Linked DNA regions of Homo sapiens: region 1 is linked to region 2. The links are contacts of gene promoters, found by promoter capture Hi-C in blood cells and fetal thymus (Javierre and others, 2016). All regions are on one chromosome and are shown on one strand. The core of a region is centred on a gene start or on the middle of the fragment in contact, and the rest is flanking DNA. Distances in the headings are between cores, read along the strand shown.

The links. Contacts are between HindIII fragments. The CHiCAGO score rates a contact against its expected background, and 5 or more counts as called.
Region 1: a contact is called between a fragment that was not itself captured here and the fragment with the promoter of SYNE1-AS1 in region 2, in 1 of 17 cell types (neutrophils). The highest score is 5.2, in neutrophils.

Annotation. Positions count from the first base shown.
Region 1 is chr6:152,434,520-152,440,692 of GRCh38, reverse strand. It overlaps SYNE1 (spectrin repeat containing nuclear envelope protein 1), which reads left to right. Exons shown (of 146, transcript NM_182961.4): 33 at 4,592-4,752. Among named protein-coding and RNA genes, the nearest start is that of SYNE1-AS2, 35 kb to the right of the region's middle. The HindIII fragment of the contact is 6,697 bases long and covers 1-4,651 here.
Region 2 is chr6:152,375,725-152,381,787 of GRCh38, reverse strand. SYNE1-AS1 (SYNE1 antisense RNA 1) reads right to left here and starts at 1,258. Exons shown (of 2, transcript NR_120501.1): 1 at 1,195-1,258; 2 at 75-728. It overlaps SYNE1 (spectrin repeat containing nuclear envelope protein 1), which reads left to right. Exons shown (of 146, transcript NM_182961.4): 56 at 426-782; 57 at 4,876-5,012; 58 at 5,230-5,407. The HindIII fragment of the contact is 6,155 bases long and covers 1-1,661 here.

The sequences.
Region 1 (6,173 bases), core at 54-2,553, 59 kb before region 2:
GGGAGGCTGAGGCAGGAGAATCGCTTGAACCCGGGAGGCAGAGGTTGCAGTGAGCCGAGATGGCACCACTGCACTCCAGCCTGGCAAGAGAGTGAGACTCCATCTCAAAAAAAAAAAAAAAAAAATCTGGAGGCAATAATATTTTTTAACTGAACCTTAAAGGTCAGTAAAACTTAGTAGAGTTTGGAGCAAAATACAGACATTCTTTGGAAGGTGGAATGGCATAGAGCATACAAGTGTTCTGAATAGGAATTCTGTGTTGTAAAATAGAACAATGGGAAATGAATTTGTAAAGGAAATTTGGCCCATATTTCAGAGTCTTGAAGACCTAAAGCATTACTTTCTAGGCAACATGGAGCCAGACTTGTTGAAGGCTTAAAAGGAAAAGCCACACGATCAGAGCTGGGCTTTGGATGAATTTTTAGGCAGGTGTAGAAAAGTGACTGAAAGTGTGAAAGACTGGGGTCATGGGATCCATTTAAGTTATTGCATATGGGCATATGGGAGTTAATATGGGCATAAATAAGGGCGGTGGGGTGGCAGGTGTTACACAGAAACAGATACAAAAGATGTGGAGTTCACAGGAAGATAGGGAAACTAACCAGACAGAGTGAGTGACGAAAATGTTGATACCTGAGGTTTTGAGTCTGACGGAGACAATGGAAGTGAGATGGGGGATGTGAACGAGAAGTTGTTCATGGGAAAAGATGACCAACTTCATTTTGGAGGTAGCGATTTTGAGACTCCAATGGGGCATCAAACAGACCGTATTTAGTAGGTGTACTTGGTGAACCCAACCCTACAAGCTCAAACACCTTGGACACTCTAAGCAGACCAACCAATTTGTACCAAGCATTGAAGTTCCTGTGGTGCCTCTTTGGGGTTTATAGAAAGACTGAATTAGTAGAGAAATGAACTAACCGGTGTCTTAGAAAGAAGAGCCTTGTGCCCACCCTTCCCTAGCCTTTAGCAAGAAAACCTTTGTGTTTCTGTTTTCTTACCTGCAAAAGGCTTCACTCTCTCCCATACTGCTAATTTTTTGTTTCTCCTAAAAACTCACTGAGGATTTTGAAGTTTTCTAAGACCACAGACTCTTTCAAGTCTATACGATATTCATCAGTCATTTAAATAGAACATTATTTTAATTTTTAATTTAAATTATTTGGCCGGGTACGATGGCTCATGCCTGTAATCCTAAAACTTTGGGAGGCTGAGATGGGAGGATTGCTTGAGGCCACGAGTTGAGACCAGCCTGGTCAATATAGCAATACCCCATCTCTATTTTAAAAAATAAATAAATTATTTCGTGTATTAAAAACGTATCAGGTGCCTTTTATAAATACAAAGATGTTTATTGGGTTAATTTCCTAAATGTTTCTGACCACGTTCCAGCCAGAGTTTCTGACCCCCTATGATTCCATTTGCACTAATTCCTTTGGATCAGTTTAAGTACCTGTAGATTGAAACAAATGGAATCTTTTGAGTCTTGTTATTCAAATTCTCCTTTGTCCATGGTCTTCTATGCTTTGGGATTGATGTAATAATATGAGGTGACATTTATCAAACACATATAATATGCCGAATTAATTATTTGATGTTTATCATCGCCTTTAATCCTCAAAACAGTCCTAAGAAATAGGTATCATTATCAATCGTGTTATATGAGGAAGGACACATAAGGCACAAAGTTGGTGATGAACTCACTCAAGATCTGCGGATCACTAAATAGTGAGGTTGGGATTTCAATCCAAAAGGTCCTTTTCCAGAGCCCACATCTTTAGTCACTACGTTATTTTTTCATTCAAAAAACAGAGCCATTTTACTAATTGCCTATGCTCACTGCCAATCTAGAATCATTGTTCTCCTGTAGTTCTTTGCTCATTTTGCTTTGTTATTACAAACCTTTATTCAAGTTGATAGCCCTTGAGTAGTTGTGCTAAGGAATGGTTATGCTAAGGGACTTGAGTGTCCTCTGTGTACTGGTGTGTGTGATAGAGGGTTCATAGCAATGTCATGTTTAATCTTGAAAATAAGATATGGCTTTAGTGATGAAGAAAGGAAAATTCAGAGAGATGTGGCCAAAGGTCACTCAGCTAATGAAGGTTGGAGCCTAGGTTTCATCCCAGATCAATCTAATGTGAGTCAATTTTTACCTGATGCATCCTGCTGCCTGCCACTCATATGTTTTCTAAGAAGTTAGAGATAAGGCCTTACAATGTTATTCTGTTTTTGTTTAATTTTGTTTTTTTATCACCATCATTCTGCTCTTTCGATTTCTCTGCATTATGCTTTTTCCATACATAGCTCACATAAAAAGCTCTAAAATTGAATGTATATAAGCATTTTCAAACATTACTTTTTCCATGTTTTTCCTGGGTTCTGAGAAACACTAGCAGAAAAAAATAAAACACTTTATTTTTCACTTCTGATTATATTCATGGGATTCTAAGAGATCATGTGGTGATTTGTAATCTCCACAATTGAATCTACCATGACTGTCAGATATAGTAACAGTGGGTGCTTTTATCCAAAGAATTTAATGTTGTGACATTAGCAACTACCATATTTTAGTGTACTATAAATCTCTATGCCATAAGGAAGCTGTACTTATTCATTTTTATTCTCTTAAATTGCAACGTAGTTCTCTGAAGTAACATTGATTTTTTCTTCTTCTTTTTTGAGACAGAGTCTCACTCTGTCACCTAGGCTGGAGTGCAGTGGCACAATCTTGGCCAACACTGATATTTGTTGGCCGAACTCGTGATATTTCTATGAGAACATTAAGTCTTTTAAACATGAAGATATAATAGTATTATTTAGTAACTCTATCTTATATGGTACTATGTTCTAGGAGATGCTCTTACTGAAAAGCTGACTTTGGAAAAATACTTATATTTCTACATTATTCATTTAGGAGAAGGGAGTTGATCAAAATTTAAACCTCCTGTGAGATTCTCTTACATGAGAAGAAGTGAGATACCAAGTACATTTTCTTCACTTAGGTTATTACTGGGTTTACCTTTTCTAATTCAGCATTCAATATAATTACTTGACAAAATTCAGGTAACATCTAATATTTACCAGCCACATACATACTAAATCAACTTTTCAATTAAAATAGTTGAAAATAAGTATTTTCAACTATTTTAAAATATTTAAAATAAGTATATTGGCTTAATAAATCATTTTGTCCTCAAGTTTGTATGAGAGACATAAAAAACAATAATCAGTATCTCCAAGAGTGTTAGGCACTTTAAAAGTAAGATTGCTAATAGAATGCTAACAGTAACCTTCTAAGAAAAGGATTATCATCTGCATTTTACATGAAAGAGCCTGAAAATAATTCACCAAAGTCAAACAACTAGTGATCCTGGATTCTAGCCCAGGCTTGACTGGTTCAAAACTTATATTCTCTTTCCATCATGTGATACATGTGTATGTAATAAATAAGATTTAACAGCACTAAGATTAGATTATAGCTCTTTTCAGAGAACTAGTTAACAAAATGGCTTGATTACTTCTCTCTCTCTTTTTTCTTTGAGACAAATTCTTGCTCTGTTGCCTGGGCTGGAATGTAGTGGCGCCATTATGCCTGCTCACTGCAGCCTCTATCTCCTCTCACCTCAGCCTCCTGAGTAGCCAGGACTACAGGCATGCACCATCATGCCTGGTCACTTTTTTTTTTTTCCCTAGAGATGGAGGTCTTCCCATTTTGCCAAGGCTAGTCTCAAACTCCTGGCCTCAAGTGATCCTCCTGCCTCAGCCTCCCAAAATGCTGGAGTTAAAGGCATGAGCCGTCATGCCTGGCCAAAGATCATTGATAGTCTCTTTTGACTAAGATATTACATTAAATAAATAAATGTTTCTATTCATTGGCCTAGAAATCTATTATGTCTATGATCAATCACTATTGATTTTGTGAACTGGCCTGTAATAAGTAAGCATATTTGTGAATAAATTAATTATTATAATGGATCTAAGAATTCTAAACAATGAGACAAAACCAGGAAACAAAGGAGAAACAATTTTTGTGAGTATTATTGGAAAACTATGAAGGCAAATAGCTGGTTGTGTATAGAAAATTAAAAAGTTAGCCAGGCATGGTGGCACCTGCCTGTGATCCCAGCATTTTGGGAGGTCAAGACTGGAGGATCACTTGAGCCCAGGAGTTCAAGATCAGCTTGGGCAACATAGTGAGACCTCATCTGTACAAAAATCAGAAAATTAGCCAGATGTGGTAGTGCCTGCCTGTGGTCCCAGCTACTCAGGAGGTTGAGGTAGGAAAATCATATAAACCCAGGAGTTGGAAGCTGCAGTGAGCCATGATTGCACCACTGCATTCCAGCATGGGCAAAAGAGCAAGACCCTATCTCAAAAAAAAAGAAATAAAATAAAAAACTGTTAGCAAAGTGTCTATTTTGGCCATATGGAAATAAGTCAGATTTATTGTTAAGAACAATGTAAGATCCATACATGTATGACTCTATGTCTTCATCCACCCATCTGTTCTGTATGCAATATGTGCACTTTATTTGAGGGCAGAGATAAATAATATAAAGTGCCTACCTAATGATCATAATATTTTTTCTAGGAGTTTTCTAAACGGACAGAAAGTATTGCAGTCCAGGCTGAGAACCTTGTAAAGGAAGCTTCAGAGATACCGCTTGGGCCCCAAAATAAGCAGCTGCTTCAACAGCAGGCCAAGTCAATCAAAGAACAAGTCAAAAAATTAGAAGACACGCTTGAAGAAGAGTATGTGATTGACAAGTCCTAAACTTTCTTCTCTGAGATAAAGTTTCATACAATCTTTCCTGTACCTTGTATTCAAAACACTCTTTTAAAATCTCAAAGTGTCTGTGTATTTCAGCATGTTTTGAGGAAACAACTCACAGTTCAAAAGAAAGTATCGCTAATACAGAAACCAATATCTATAACAGAGCCCAAAAAATATAAAGGATGTGGGTTTTGCATCTTAAACTGATCATGTTCATGAGAAAGCCATATCTATTCTATTCTGTGGCCTTTGTACATTGTAGAGGGAATCTTGAAAAAGAACTAATATTTAAAATAATTTTTTTACTATATTATTCTGCTGTCACCATTTAGAGCGAAAAGGAGATATTTTGTTAGTGTAGATTCCAGGCCTAAATACACATCACATAGACCATATATCTCCAACCTGAAGAAGCTCCTGGAGCTTGTTTACAGTGCCTCGGTATTCAAGTTATCCTGACTAATATGCTCTTTCCAGAAATTAACTTTAAAATATTTTATTTTTAAACTTTTAATGTTTGTTTATCTGAAAAAAAAAAACTGCTTGGCCTATTGATATCCTGTTATATACCCAAAATATACAAAAAAGTTTGGAGGGGAAAAACATATGAGGATACAGCCAATATTATTCAAAACAATATGGCTAAACATTTCTATTTTTAACATAATTTAGTGGCAAATCAATGATACATAATAGCATATTATTATTAAGGGACAGGCCATCATTTCTAAGGTGGGTTTTAAAATGTAAAATGTGTTTTTAATACTATTAACAGCTTAAAATTAACATTTTACATTTGCCTAAACTTTAAAATTTGATACATATTTTATTTAAAACAAATTATGACTTGAAATTTTGAGGACTTTATATTACATTAAATATTCTCTATCAAGTTATGGAAATAGTAAAACAGAGTTTATTAGAAAGGAATTTACTTCTATTAAGAATAGCCATTTTAACCTTTATTTAATTTAAAAAGTTGCAATATAACACAGCTTGCATTACCTGTACTGCTGACAGCATTAGGCACATTCAGGGTATAAATTTGAGACTGCAATATTATTTAATTTGACAGTCAATGATGCCACTCTATTTTTCTTGATGTCTTCAAGTGCCTTTTGGTAAACAGGGACATTCTTTCACTTTTTTTTTTTTTAACCCAAGGACTTACTAGTTCAATTATATACTGTTAGTTTCTTAGTCTTTTTCTAAACTGAAAGCCATAGTCACCTGGTTATACATGCATAGCTAATACAAATTAGAAATCTATAGTTGAAATTCTGTTCACTAGATTTGTTACAAATAAAACCTATAAGTTGTCTAAAAGTAGTTAGGGTGCTCATGTACAATAATTTATAAATGTCTTTTGGAATCAGGACCATAAGACATTTATGAAAAT
Region 2 (6,063 bases), core at 9-2,508:
AGAAGATGAATTGAGTATAGAGACCGTGAGCAGAACACAGTTCTGCCACGATCTTTATTTACTTGAGCATCCACTTTGAGGGAAATATGGGTTTAATCATTCACAGGAGCAATCCACCACAGGCAAACACTTGAGTCACTAAACATTTTCACGTGTGCGAATAATGCCTGATTTCAGGGTCTCTGTTTAGTCTGTTTCAGGATATTGAGGATTCTCGGGATTTTTTTGCCATAAGCCTTAGGCACTCGTGATGACAACTCCCGCTATTATAATTTAAGAGTGGACAGATGAATTGATTCTGGGTCCTTGTGGCACACTTGTTAAAACTTCCTGGCAGGACAGGGTCCCCCTGTGTACACAGTTGAAAACTTGCAGTCCAAGTGACTCACAGGCTCTTCAGTTACCATGGTGATATTCCATTACAGGAGCTGATAGATTCCAGAGAGATTGGTGCAAGCCGTCTCAGCAGAGTGGAGTCGCTGGCTCCCGAAGTGAAACAGAACACAACTGCCAGTGGGTGTGAGCTCATGCACACGGAGATGCAGGCCCTGCGTGCCGACTGGAAGCAGTGGGAAGACAGTGTATTCCAAACGCAGAGCTGTTTGGAGAACCTGGTCAGCCAGATGGCCCTTTCGGAGCAGGAATTCTCAGGCCAAGTGGCTCAACTGGAGCAGGCCCTGGAACAGTTCAGTGCCCTTCTGAAAACCTGGGCTCAGCAGTTAACCCTCCTGGAAGGCAAGAACACGGATGAGGAGATAGTGGAATGCTGGCACAAAGGACAAGTAAGTTGGCTTCCTGTTTTCTATTGGTGGTTATGCTTTAAAAAATGTTTTGACTTTCATCATTCCTTAAAAAAAAAATCTTGCTAACTAAAAACACGCAACATGCACACTTGGAAGAAGTATTTATCTCATTAAATAAGCAAAGTCTGATTTGTTTCCTTTTCTTATATATCAAACTTTTGTAAAAATAAAGATTTGGGTTATTATTTGCGGTAGGAAACATTTGTTGTTAGTGGAGACATTTTACTTTCATTCCTATGGTGTAAGAGTCTGTAATACTGTATTCAGCCATTCAGTCTGAAAAATGGCCTGTGGGCAGGGGCATAAATAGACAGAGAGTCATAGCTGTTTTCTTGCCAGTTAACTATTTCATACAACTAAATGATTGAATTTATAGCCTTAAAAGACTCACTTGGTAATCTCCTACAGCACAGCAAATAGTTATCTCCCCGATTAGCTCTCCTCTGTGTGGTTTTGACAGCTGTTCTTGAATTAGCCTGTTAACAGAACTCTACGTCACCCTCCCTGGTCACCTTCCCGAGACTTTTTTTTTTTTTTTGAAGCTAATGGCAGCTTCTTTAGAATGTGAGAAAGGGAAGCCTACAAGGGAGACCGAAGAATGAGCAAGAGTGTAACCTCTTCTTCGTTTCTTTCACTGTTAAACAGTATCTTTGAAAGCCTTTTCAATATTTCCAGTTTTATAATGCCCTGATTCATGGATGTCCTTAAAAGGAAATTTAGTAAACTTCTCTGCTCCTATTTATATTACAATCATTTCAAAATAGCTCCTGCCAGTAAGAAAGTCATGTAGTATTTCCAGCAGTGTCTGGTTTTAAATCAAGTATTTGAAACAAATGCAGCATGCCATAAAATAAAGCTTTCTACCTCTTTATGCTACTCTATTTATAATGATTCTAGGTTTGGGGGTTTGTTTTTGTTATTCTGTTCCATTTCCTGTCCTTTAGATTTATGTACCAGAATAAAGCATAGAAATCAGTTCTGTCACAGAGGGACAAAGAAGTTGATAATTGCTCTACATGGTATAATATGAAAAAATCAGTTACACTTTCTTGGTTCCTTTTTCTTTCCCTTTCTTTCTATTCCAGTCACAGAGTGAAATTTTTAAAAAGGAAAGATTTGGCTGTGCCTAGATTACATTACTATTCTGTTCATTATTTTTACGTTGATATTATTAGTAAAAATAATGGTTGAGGCCTATAAAAATATACATGAGAATGCAGTAGTAAATATGGGTTTTCAGTTGTGTTAAATAGTTCAAATGTGACAGCCCTCTGTGTATGTCTGCTTCCAGATTTGACTCCAGGGTCAATGCTTTTGATGACAATGCTACATTGCTTCTCAATATTCATGTTTTCTTTTATTTCTAATAATGGCATTTTATCTAAAAGTGGAGATATTTCTATCACAATGAATATGTAAGAAAATGTTAACAAAATAGTAAATATGCTAGGGTTCTTAGGGCATTGTTTTGCTTTTAGGGAGGACTTGTCATTGTTGATGATCACAATAAGAATTAAAGTATTTATTTTATGCAATTAGATGACAATACTCAAGAAATTCTTTAAAACATAAAAACAGATGATCTATAAAGTATATAATATAATATTGTAAAAATAATTCTATTTACTATGTTTGCGAAACTCATTTATCTTAATATCCTTTGGGATATTAGCTTTGGAAATAATTTTCTTAAGCTGTATAAGGTGGAAAGATGCATTCTAGAACTTAACAGAATCAGAAATACATAAGCTGATATTTATATATTGACTCTACTGACATACTTTAGGATGAAGTTATAGAAATGTTTTAAATGTAACGTTTTGGTCAAAAACTTTTCACTTTTAATGTCATCCCATTCATAAGTAACTGACTTGAATCTCCAGTATTTTTATGTTTTTGTTGAATGCTAAGTTTCTTTAGTTCTTACAATGTTCTGTCTTAAGTAAAAGGTTCCATATGGTGTAAAATAGTTGGTCCTAGTTTAGTGTTTGGAATTTCAGAGAGAAATTGTTTAGTTGTTGATGAATTTTTGTAAATAAAAATGTCTTAGACTCCTCCAGCCCAGACACCGAGTTAAATAAAGAATTGACAAACCAAGAGAATGTCATTCCTGCTCTCATAATCACAGCCTAGGTGGGGAGATACGCAAGCATAAAGCCAATGTGGATACTCCTTGTGATGAATGTCTGCAAGGTCCTGTGTATCCTCAGATGAGAAACCCGAAGAGGTGGGAAGGAGGGCAGGGGGTACTTAAAGGAGTTGTTATTTGAGTTGAGTCTTGAGGTATAATTAAAATGTGACCTGACAGGTGAGGTAGAGGAACAGCATCAAGATGCAGGATCATTGAGGAATCAGAAAACACAAGAGAGGAACCTAGAGAGGAGGAATCAGATTAGGAGGATGTAGTGCCACCCCCAAAAGAAATAATGAATATGTAAGTGGGTCTGTGAAAGTCAACGTGCAGAGGCAAAGAGGGGAATGATGAAAGGAGCTAAGACACAGAATAAGCTAGCCTGGATATCTCTTGCATAGAGTGAGAAAGGAAACAAAGGGAGAGGCCCGGATGATGCTTAATCTTCTGATTGACATCAGCGGGGGACAGTGGTGCCATTTACCAGGACGAGGAATGAAGCACAGGGCTGGTTTGTTGAGGGATGTGGTTTCTTTACAAATCTGGGCCATCTCTTGACAAATATCAGACAATAATGGTCACAGCAAAGCTATTTGAGTAGTTACTCATCTTTTTGCCCCTCCTCCTTAATTTATTTTGTTTTTTTGCTTCAGTGCTACTGTTATCCACAGTGTTTACATATTTGGGAGTCATTCTCCTTCTGATTTTATGAATTAGACACTTAGTGTGCTAGGAACTGTGCTAAGTATTTGACATTCATGATTTCATTTGTTCCTTGTGACAATCCTATGAGAGGAACACTCTGAGTGCAAAGCACCTTGTGTAACTCAGATGACCATGGCCTCGATTTCAGAGGTGTACTTTTCAAGTCCTAAGGCTTTATTTTGGATTGGGTGTACACAGTAATGTAGCTATTCATGTGTCTCCCTCATCTATTAAATTGTGAGCTCTTCAAGAACAAGAATCTTACCTTTATTCGTGGGGGGACTTGGGTCCCAGAATCCAGCAAAATGCTTGGCACACGGTAAACATTTAGCAAATATTTGATGACTTTATGAATGAAACTATGAAATAAATGAATTACTATTTAAACCAGACTCATGGATTATAAGAAATTTTTAATGTAAAAGTTAACTGTATATACAACATAAAATCAATTGAAACAGGATTCAATTTTGGAGATATATATATATATATATATATATATATATATTTTTTTTTTTTTTTTTTTTTTTTTTTTTTTTTAAGACGGAGTTTCGTTCTGTCCCCCAGGCTGGAGTGCAATGGCACGATCTCGGCTCACTGCAACCTCCACCTCCCAGGTTCTAGGGATTCTCCTGCCTCAGCCTCCCAAGTAGCTGGGATTACAGGCGCCCACCACCACAACTGGCTAATTTTTGTATTTTCAGTAGAGATGGGGTTCACCATGTTGGTCAGGCTGGTCTCGAACTCCTGACCTCAGGTGATCCACCCTCCTCGGCCTCCCAAAGTGCTGGAATTACAGGCGTGAGCCACCACACCCGGCCCTTAATATATATATTTAATCCAAAATAAGTGTTGCTTTTCTTTAAAATAATTTGTTTTCACCTTTAAACAATATACATATCTCCTGATGGCCTAGTCCAACTATTTATAGACAATGTAGGCTATTTTTTCTTTTTCTTGTCTTATTTTTAAGTCATTTCACCACTTAATCACTTAACTACTTTGCAGTATTTGATGCTAGAGTGTCTATCCATGGCAAGAAAAAAGGGACAAATGAGCCAGGTGCTATTATTTGTCAGAGGAATCCTGAAAACAGGCTTCATTTCTTCATTGAATCTACCATGTTGGTTCTTCTCTCACTAATAATTTATAATATGATTGATGCATGTATAGTGTGAAGATATGGAGATCACCCAATGTAAGTGCTCGCTTCTTTGTCTCATTATTTCTGAACAGGAGATACTGGATGCTTTGCAAAAAGCAGAGCCTAGAACAGAGGATCTCAAGTCTCAGCTGAATGAACTTTGTCGATTTTCCAGAGACCTGAGTACCTACAGTGGAAAAGTTTCTGGCTTGATTAAAGAGTATAATTGGTGAGCATGAACCTTATTGGTGTTCAAGATATTTTTATACAAATTAGAAGCTAGAAGTTTATTTTAAGGTGTAATTTCAAAATAATATTAGTTCAGCATTAAATATATTACTAAGTGAGGTAAGTGCACATTCTAAGAACTGGTGATTCTATCAAACATGATTTTCATCAACTTTATCGCTTTTTCCTGCCATTAAATTTTTGCGTCACCTTTTCAGTCTTTGTTTGCAAGCATCCAAGGGCTGCCAGAATAAAGAACAGATTTTACAGCAAAGATTTCGAAAGGCCTTCAGGGATTTCCAGCAGTGGTTGGTTAATGCAAAAATCACTACCGCCAAGTGTTTTGATATACCTCAAAATATAAGTGAAGTTTCAACTAGTCTTCAGAAAATACAGGTAAGGGTGTTATCAATTAATTCTAGTAGCAGTGCTGATGTGAACTAAAGTTAACCTCTAAATCAAGGGTCCCCATCTCCTGGGCCGCGGACTGGTACAGGTCCCTGGCCTGTTAGGAACCAGGCCGCACAGCAGGAGGTGAGCAGCAGGCCAATGAGCGTTACTGCCTGAGCTCCACCTCCTGTCAGATCAGCGGTAGCATCAGATTCTCATAGGAGCCTGAACCCCATTGTGAACTGTGCACACAGAGGAACTAGGCTGTGTGCTCCTTCTAAGAATCTAACTAATGCCTGATGATCTGAGGTAGAACAGTTTCATCCCGAAACCATCCCCCCTGCCCCACCCCATCTGTGGAAAAATTGTCTTCCCTGAAACCACTCCCTGGTGCCAAAAAGGTTGGGGACCGCTTCTCTAGATCTTTTCAGAAGGGCAGAACATATAAAAGTTTTGCGTAAGAAATTCAAATTTCAAATAAATCCCCACTTAAAACAATTGCTTCTGTATATGAAGAGGAACCAGTTCATTTATATAAATGCACACTATTTTTATATATTAATGGTGATCCAGGAAATAATAAAACGTTTTTTCTATGTGACAAGCATTGTTCCTGAGCACTTTAAGTGGATTTTCTCATTTAATTTTCACAACAACCATTT